2 separate regions of the Homo sapiens genome follow, and region 1 is linked to region 2. Evidence: promoter capture Hi-C in 16 types of primary human blood cells and fetal thymus (Javierre and others, 2016). All regions are on one chromosome and are shown on one strand. The core of a region is centred on a gene start or on the middle of the fragment in contact, and the rest is flanking DNA. Distances in the headings are between cores, read along the strand shown.

What was found. The method cuts DNA at HindIII sites, captures the fragments that hold promoters and counts their contacts. A CHiCAGO score of 5 or more calls a contact.
Region 1: a contact is called between a fragment that was not itself captured here and the fragment with the promoter of MBL2 in region 2, in 2 of 17 cell types (fetal thymus and megakaryocytes). The highest score is 6.1, in fetal thymus.

Annotation. Positions count from the first base shown.
Region 1 is chr10:52,215,033-52,218,991 of GRCh38, reverse strand. The region is part of intron 9 of PRKG1 (protein kinase cGMP-dependent 1); the gene reads right to left. The region is part of intron 1 of LOC124902425 (a long non-coding RNA gene); the gene reads left to right. Among named protein-coding and RNA genes, the nearest start is that of PRKG1-AS1, 97 kb to the left of the region's middle. The HindIII fragment of the contact is 588 bases long and covers 2,112-2,699 here.
Region 2 is chr10:52,771,534-52,775,309 of GRCh38, reverse strand. It overlaps MBL2 (mannose binding lectin 2), which reads left to right and starts at 2,526. Exons shown (of 5, transcript NM_001378373.1): 1 at 2,526-2,573; 2 at 3,666-3,776. The coding sequence starts at 3,675. The HindIII fragment of the contact is 7,250 bases long and covers 1-3,776 here.

The DNA.
Region 1 (3,959 bases), core at 1,156-3,655, 560 kb after region 2:
CTTTTATCTTCAGCTTATCTAACTACTGTTGAATTTAGCTTTGGTTCAACACAGAAACTGGTCATAATATTCTCTTATATTTTGTTTCAGAAAAATTATTAACATTATATTATGGTTAAACAGTTTAGTTTAAAATATTAATTAATGAAGATAAGACTCATAAACACTAATTTCATTTCATGGGAGGCCCTGAAAACATTAATGGCTCTTTTGCTCATCAAACACTTTGAAGGTATCAAAAGGGAAATTTACCTTGAAAAAGTATCCTAATCCCTATAAATTTTTAATTTAAGAATCCAGAATAAACACTGATTTTTGCAACACAATTTTCTAAAGTAATGAGTGTAGAATTTATATAATTTTTAAAAGTCTAAATTGTTTAGAAGTTAAGACTTCTATTCAGGTTGGAGAATACTGCCTTGGCTGTTGTGAACCAAAATTTTGTATTGCGACTATTCATACAGTTGGGTAAGTTTATGTTGAATCAAAAAGAAATTGGGTCATACTTGATAAGGTTTTAAAATATCTTTTTTAACCAGAAGCCTAAAAACATTTAATAATTTCTGCTTGTCCCTTCTGTTGTCATCTAATTGCTTTTTATGAGAATTTCTTGGATTCTGTCTCTCTATATGGCCTTGTGCTTGCTACCTCAATGCCAGGCAAAAGAGCAGCCCCTTTGATGGATGTCAGCTGTTAAGACGCCTTAGTTCATTCTGTTTTTACCCACTCCCCCAAAACCAAAAAAAAAACTGTAACCTATTTTTCTTTTTTTTTTTTTTTTGAGATGGAGTCTCGCTTTGTCACCCAGGCTAGCGTGCAGTGGGTGATCTAGGCTCACTGTAACCTCTGCCTCCCAGGTTCAGGTGATTTTCCTGCCTCAGCCTCCTGAGTAGCTGGGATTACAGACGTGTGCCACCACGCCCAGCTAATTTTTGTATTTTTAGTAGAGACAGGGTTTCACCATGTTGGTCAGGCTGGTCTTGAACTCCTGACCTTGTGAACCACCTGCCTCGGCCTCCCAAAGTGCTGAGATTACAGGTGTGAGCCACGGCTCCCAGCTGTAAGCTATTTTTCTAAACCATTAATTTCCTAAGAGAAGCCATTGGAATGAGAGATAAAATAGGAGTTTCATTTATTATGCAAATTATAAGTAGAGAGTAACGGAGGAAGGAAAAGAAAGGCTAGCCACAGTGTCATTATTAAAATATCCTTTGTGATGATGTCTATACTACCAACAGGGCTGAGGTCTGATTTATCTCCCAGCTAGTACATTTGCATCAGTTGCCCAAGCCACCAATGAAACTTGTTTCCATTGTCTCCTATCCAGTAGGAGACAGCACATTTGTCAACCCATTGTATATTGTTTAATCCTTGCTATTTGAGTAACTGTAAACCTGGGTTAATGCTTGCTTGTAGTTTCTATTATTCCATATTGAATAATTAAATCTAAATCTCTCTATGTACCATTTGAAGACAGGGTGAAAATATTGTTTGACGGTAGGGTGTACTAAAATTAGAGTGATGTGGTTTGCTTTAGTTCCTAGACTATGAGATTCATTTGACACTAATCTAAAAAAGAGAGAACTCTACTTATACATATATAAGTGTGTGTGTGTGTATATGTGTATATATATATATAGATAGATAGATATATAAATGTGTACGTGTGTGTGTATATGTATATTTACCCCGCACATCTCTCAGGATAACTCTAGCCTCTCCCAGGATATGTACTTATTCCTCCCCAATTAAAAATAAACACAACAAAAGGAAGTAGGATAAACTTACTCCTTAGTAGGCTTACAACTAAGAGGTGGAAGGAGGCAAGGTCAGAAGAGCCTTGGGTGCTATTTTGGAAGAAAGGGAAACAGGGCCTACTTAACCACCCTTCCATGACCTGTGGTTTGAGAAACACAGCTCTGAACAGTTCCCACACAACAGCTGTTTTTCCGCATCACCATCAGACAGGAAGTGGAATGGCACATAGAATGCAATTTATAGGATCTGTTCTCTCAGAAAGTGAAACAGGATCTCCAGGCTATTAAATTCACGGTGGTGCAGGAGCTGAACTCACTTATTAAACAGAATTGTCTGCCTAGTAAAAGAAAGCTTCCATTTGTGAAAAACTAAAAAGTTTTCAGAAGTATTATGCAAATAGTTAAGCAGTCACTGGGTTTAAACAAAACTTATTTTTAAAATTTAGAGACATTTTGATCCATTTAATTCTCAGAAAAAGATAACAAACTGATCTTAAAAAACCGCACCAAAACCTATGACTGTATAAAAACCAAAGGCTCTATTCCCTCTAGGACCATGCAAGAAATGGCATCAGAAATTCCAGCCACATTTAAAATAGGAATCAAAATCTATCTACAATGCTCTGCAGACCTGGCTGTATTAACTGCATCTAATTCTGGGGCTAAGCTAATACTAAAAGGTAAAGATGAGAAAATAGGTAATGTCCATTTTAATAAACAGGTATTTTTCTATTTTGGATGTTCCATCTAACTCTGACTATTCAATTAAAGTCTTATTGTCAAAACTCTTTGCTCTGCCAGTGTGATTTGATTTTGAGTCTCTTGCAAAATCCATGTGCAATTATTTCCCTGGCATTCCGGTAGCTATCTGCTGGTTTCCCAAAAGATCCCCAGCCCAGGAGCCTGTTGACTGAAGTGATACCTCTCCCAGAGTGAGAAGCTTAGTGTCACTTGTGTTCCATGCATAATTTTTTTGATTGAAATGAAAATTTAAGCTTCCATGCTGTGCTTGGCAATCCTTGTTTAAGAAGTGTCTAAGAAGAGTATATTCAAGAATGATCAAAAGAACCATCTGTAGTCCAAACCAATAGCTCCTTTGCATTCTTGGAAGCAGTCTGAAGAATCTCCCAAGTCTGCTAGCTCTCTTCTTACTTCAGTAAATTTATGAGAAAGTAATAGCCTCAGGGTCTCTGGGTGTACAGTTTGCTTGTTTCCTTTGCCATTGTCTCCTTAGCCACTTTATGTTTCTTGAACAATTCTATGAGGATGAGTATATTCTCCAGATGGCCACTGGAGGGCACAAAAGTACAATGTTTGCCTTCAAGTTAGGCCTTTGTGGTTTTGTTCTTCATGTGAAACATAATCTATGCTTAAGATATTCAATTAGATATGACATTTTCACTTTTAGAGCACAACTAGTAAATATCTACCTTATCATCTACCTCTTGTCAGTTATATTCTGAATGAGATCAAAACCAAAAGTTATGTTTCTAACATTACTATTATAAAAATGTATATTAATATATTTTCATTCCTTTCACCTTTCATATTTTAAAGTTATCCATCCAAATTCATGATTTGAAATTTTCACAAGGAAATTGTTTCACTTTGAAACATGTATGAATGTATGAATACCACCAAAGTGTATTCAGACATCTTCCCATGGGGAAAAGAGAAAATATTGAGGTGATATTGAAAAGTACACTGACCTGAGATGCACAAAAGAAAATACTTTTATTTTCTTGTTGCTTTAACTATCTAAATGCCTGTATATCTCGCTTTATAGCATAGAATGCTTATAGCAAGTCAGCTTCAAAATATACTTTTTTTTTTTTTTTTTGAGATGGAGTTTTGCTCTTGTCGCCCAGGCTGGAGTGCAATGGCCTGATCTTGACTCACTGCAACCTCCACCTTCCAGGTTCAAGAAATTCACCTGCCTCAGCCTCCCAAGTAGCTGGGATTACAGGTGCCCACCACCATGCCCGGCTAATTTTTGTATTTTAGTAGAGATGGGGTTTCACCACATTGGCCAGGCTGGTCTCAAACTCCTGACCTCAGGTGATCTGCCTGCCTCCACCTCCCAAAGTGTAGGGATTACAGGCATGAGCCACCATGCCTGGCCCAAAATAGACTTTGTATTTAGAATAATACATCTCTCCAAAATGGCATCTTCATGCTGGCATTTTTTTTTTTTTTTGAAAA
Region 2 (3,776 bases), core at 1,277-3,776:
TAGACGGAGAGGCTCTGTCGCCCAGGCTGGAGCGCAGTGGTGCAATCTCAGCTCACTGCAAGCTCCGCCTCCCGGGCTCACTCCATTCTCCTGCCTCAGCCTCCTGGGTAGCTGGGATTACAGGCACCCGCCACCACGCCCGGCTAGTTTGTTGTTTTTTTTTTTTTTGTATTTTTTAGTAGAGATGGGGTTTCACTGTGTTAGCCAGGATGGTCTCAATCTCCTGACCTCATGATCCGCCCGCCTCGGCCTCCCAAGGTGCTGGGATTACAGGAGTGAGCCACCACGCCTGGCTGGGAAGGGTTTTAAAGTCCAGAACAAATGCACACAGTGGCCTTATCTATGGGGTGGAGTGCAGAGTGGGCATTCGTGTGGAGAGAGACATTCAGGCTGCGGCATGTGGAGAGTGGCCTCTCCTTTTGGGAAAGGCCTTCTGGAGAGCAGGATGTAACTGGGTGACACTCCAATCTCCGGATCAATTGCTAGATTGACTTTCCCCCAGATACCCACACCCTCTGAACCCAGTTCTAGGAAATTTCAGGGTCTGGAGAGCAGTTTCCTGACCTCTGGACTAGGTAAACAATGAAAGCAAGCACTGTGATTAAAGCCAGCACCGCCAGTGACCTGGAGTCAACTACCTCACCTCACCTTCTGCCACTGGAGCAGGAGCAGGGGGAAGCTCTGGCTGCTAAAGAATAAGAAGGGAAACAAGTCTTCTCAGGCCCTGTCTTCTTTAGGCCCTGGATCTCCTGATATCCACTGATGGCTTTAGGCATGTGGCTCTGTACCATCCTGGACATTTTTCCAGGCACAGCAGACAGGTCAGCAGGAAGTAAGGAAGCCAGTCCCTCCACAAGCCAAGAAGACTTCAATTGGAAGGGACCTGGAAATGCATCTTACTCACATTTCTTTTGGTGTTTGGAGGCCTCCATAGTACCCCCACCACATGGCCCCGCAGCCTCTGAACTTCTCAGGATGGGCTCCCCAACACCCCAAGCTACATGGCATTTTTCTGAAAGCCATATCAGTAATGTAGTTGAGAATCAAATGAACTATGTTCGTAAAAGTATTCTTCCATCCCTTCTAGATTGTCCCCATTAACCACAGCAAGATGGTTCAAGCCATTAACACACACGATACCCATGATCTTATAGTGCCAAGTGCTGTTCTTTTGCTTCTTATCTCAGTTGAGTGGCTCCTAGATAGTCAAGTCATAAATGTGTGTGCCCATGAAAACTTCTTATTATCACTCACTATTCTAGCTAATTCTCAAGTGCAATCAATACCTCCTGTTTCTCAAGTGTGCCTACCTTCTTAATCTAGCTGCCATTACCCTGACCCAGGCCACTGTCTTCTGCTGCTTAGATCATGGCAAGCACTTCCTTTTAGATCTGCTTTTCTCCAGTCCTGTTCCCCTCAACATCATAGCCAGAACAAGCCTTGCAAAATTCAAATGTGATCACCTCTCCACTACTGCAGTCCCTCTAGTGCCCCCTGGAAGGAAACCCAAAGTCTTTAACACAGTTTACAATTCTTGTTATGAGGATGAAATTTGAAGACATTGTGCTAAGTGAAATAAGCCAGATACAAGGGGGCTATTGTATGATTTCACATATATGAGGTACCTAGGATAGATGAATTCAGAGAGACAGAAAGTAAAACAGAAGTTACCAGTGGCTGTGGGTAGGGGTAAATGGAGAATTCTAGTTTAATGAGTTGAGAGTTTCAGTTTGGGATGATGAAAATCATCCCATGATGTGGTGATGATAGCACAACCGTGTGAATGTACTTAATGCTACTGAGTTGTGTGCTTAATAATAATGGTCAAAATGGTAAATTTTATGTCTATTTTACCACAATGAAAAACTGGAAAAGTAAAGTCAATGACTATAATATCATAAAGTGTAAGTAACATGAGAGAAAATAATTCAGGCTAAGAGGATAGAGACTGCTAGGTAGGACTATTTTAGAATAAGTGATCAAGGTACTGATTTCTCTGAAATTGGAATATTTGAATAGAAGAGAAAGAGCTAGCTGGCGATGCCCGTAAGGGGTCCAGGCATGGAGACATCAAATGAAGAGTCTGAGGCAGGAATGGCCTTAATGCATTAATGGCAGCAAGAGGTCTATGTGGTTTCATGGATGGGTGTGTGCGTGCATGCACGTGTCTGTGTGTATAGTTGGTGTGCATGAGCATGTGTATGCATTTGTGAGTATCTTTGTTTTTCTGTTGGAAACAAGGATGTCAACAGGACTAACTAGGTGAACCTAGCTGTGGTAGTTCAGCAATGAGATTTGCCAAAATGGATGGCAATTGAAAGAGGAATTGTGCTGTATTAAAGCAGACAGCTGCCGAGCACTGTATTGGAGGCTCCTAAATTTCTCATAGTTCTGAGAAGAGCTGTTTATTAATCTGGAGTTGAAGGCCAGGCCCAGGATATCCTTGTTCACAAGGTTGATTGGGCCCTACATTGCTGAGCCCAGCCTCCTCCCTCACTCTGAGGCATCTGCCAGAGCCCCAGGCTAGAGGGCCAGCGTCCTTGTCACTGAGTCCCTGCTCTGCAGAAACACCAGTAAGTCATTTCTGGTGAATAAATCTGGGTTTCCGGATCAAGGGTTTGGGGAGCTGACATGACCCTGGAGGCATGGAGGAGGCTTTCTAGGGGTGGGGGGAGTGGGATGGAAAGCAGAAATCAGGTTGAGGATGTCTCTTTTTCTGCTTGTGCTGGAGCATCTGTGACTTTCCTCCATTATCTGTTCATCTGCAGTGGAGACTGTCTTTGTTTTCAAAGGGAAACTTGGAGGCTTAGACCTATGGGGCTAGGCTGCTGAGGTTTCTTAGGGGGCAATAGCTGGAAGAAAGCTCTGAAGAACAAATGAAAGGTTAATACTGAGAAATGGGAGGAGGATTCAAGGCAAGTTTTCTAATTGCCAGTGGTTTTTGACTCACAGAACATGGGGAATTCCTGCCAGAAAGTAGAGAGGTATTTAGCACTCTGCCAGGGCCAACGTAGTAAGAAATTTCCAGAGAAAATGCTTACCCAGGCAAGCCTGTCTAAAACACCAAGGGGAAGCAAACTCCAGTTAATTCTGGGCTGGGTTGGTGACTAAGGTTGAGGTTGATCTGAGGTTGAGACCTTCCTCTTTGGATCACCAGCTTTCAGCTCAGGGCCTGCCAATGAGTAAATGATAGTTAACAGGTCCTGGAGGGGAATCAGCTGCCCAGATACAAAGATGGGATTCAGGTGGCAGATGGACCCGAAGAGGACATGGAGAGAAAGAGGAAGCTCCTACAGACACCTGGGTTTCCACTCATTCTCATTCCCTAAGCTAACAGGCATAAGCCAGCTGGCAATGCACGGTCCCATTTGTTCTCACTGCCACCGAAAGCATGTTTATAGTCTTCCAGCAGCAACGCCAGGTGTCTAGGCACAGATGAACCCCTCCTTAGGATCCCCACTGCTCATCATAGTGCCTACCTTTGTTAAAGTACTAGTCACGCAGTGTCACAAGGAATGTTTACTTTTCCAAATCCCCAGCTAGAGGCCAGGGATGGGTCATCTATTTCTATATAGCCTGCACCCAGATTGTAGGACAGAGGGCATGCTCGGTAAATATGTGTTCATTAACTGAGATTAACCTTCCCTGAGTTTTCTCACACCAAGGTGAGGACCATGTCCCTGTTTCCATCACTCCCTCTCCTTCTCCTGAGTATGGTGGCAGCGTCTTACTCAGAAACTGTGACCTGTGAGGATGCCCAAAAGACCTGCCCTGCA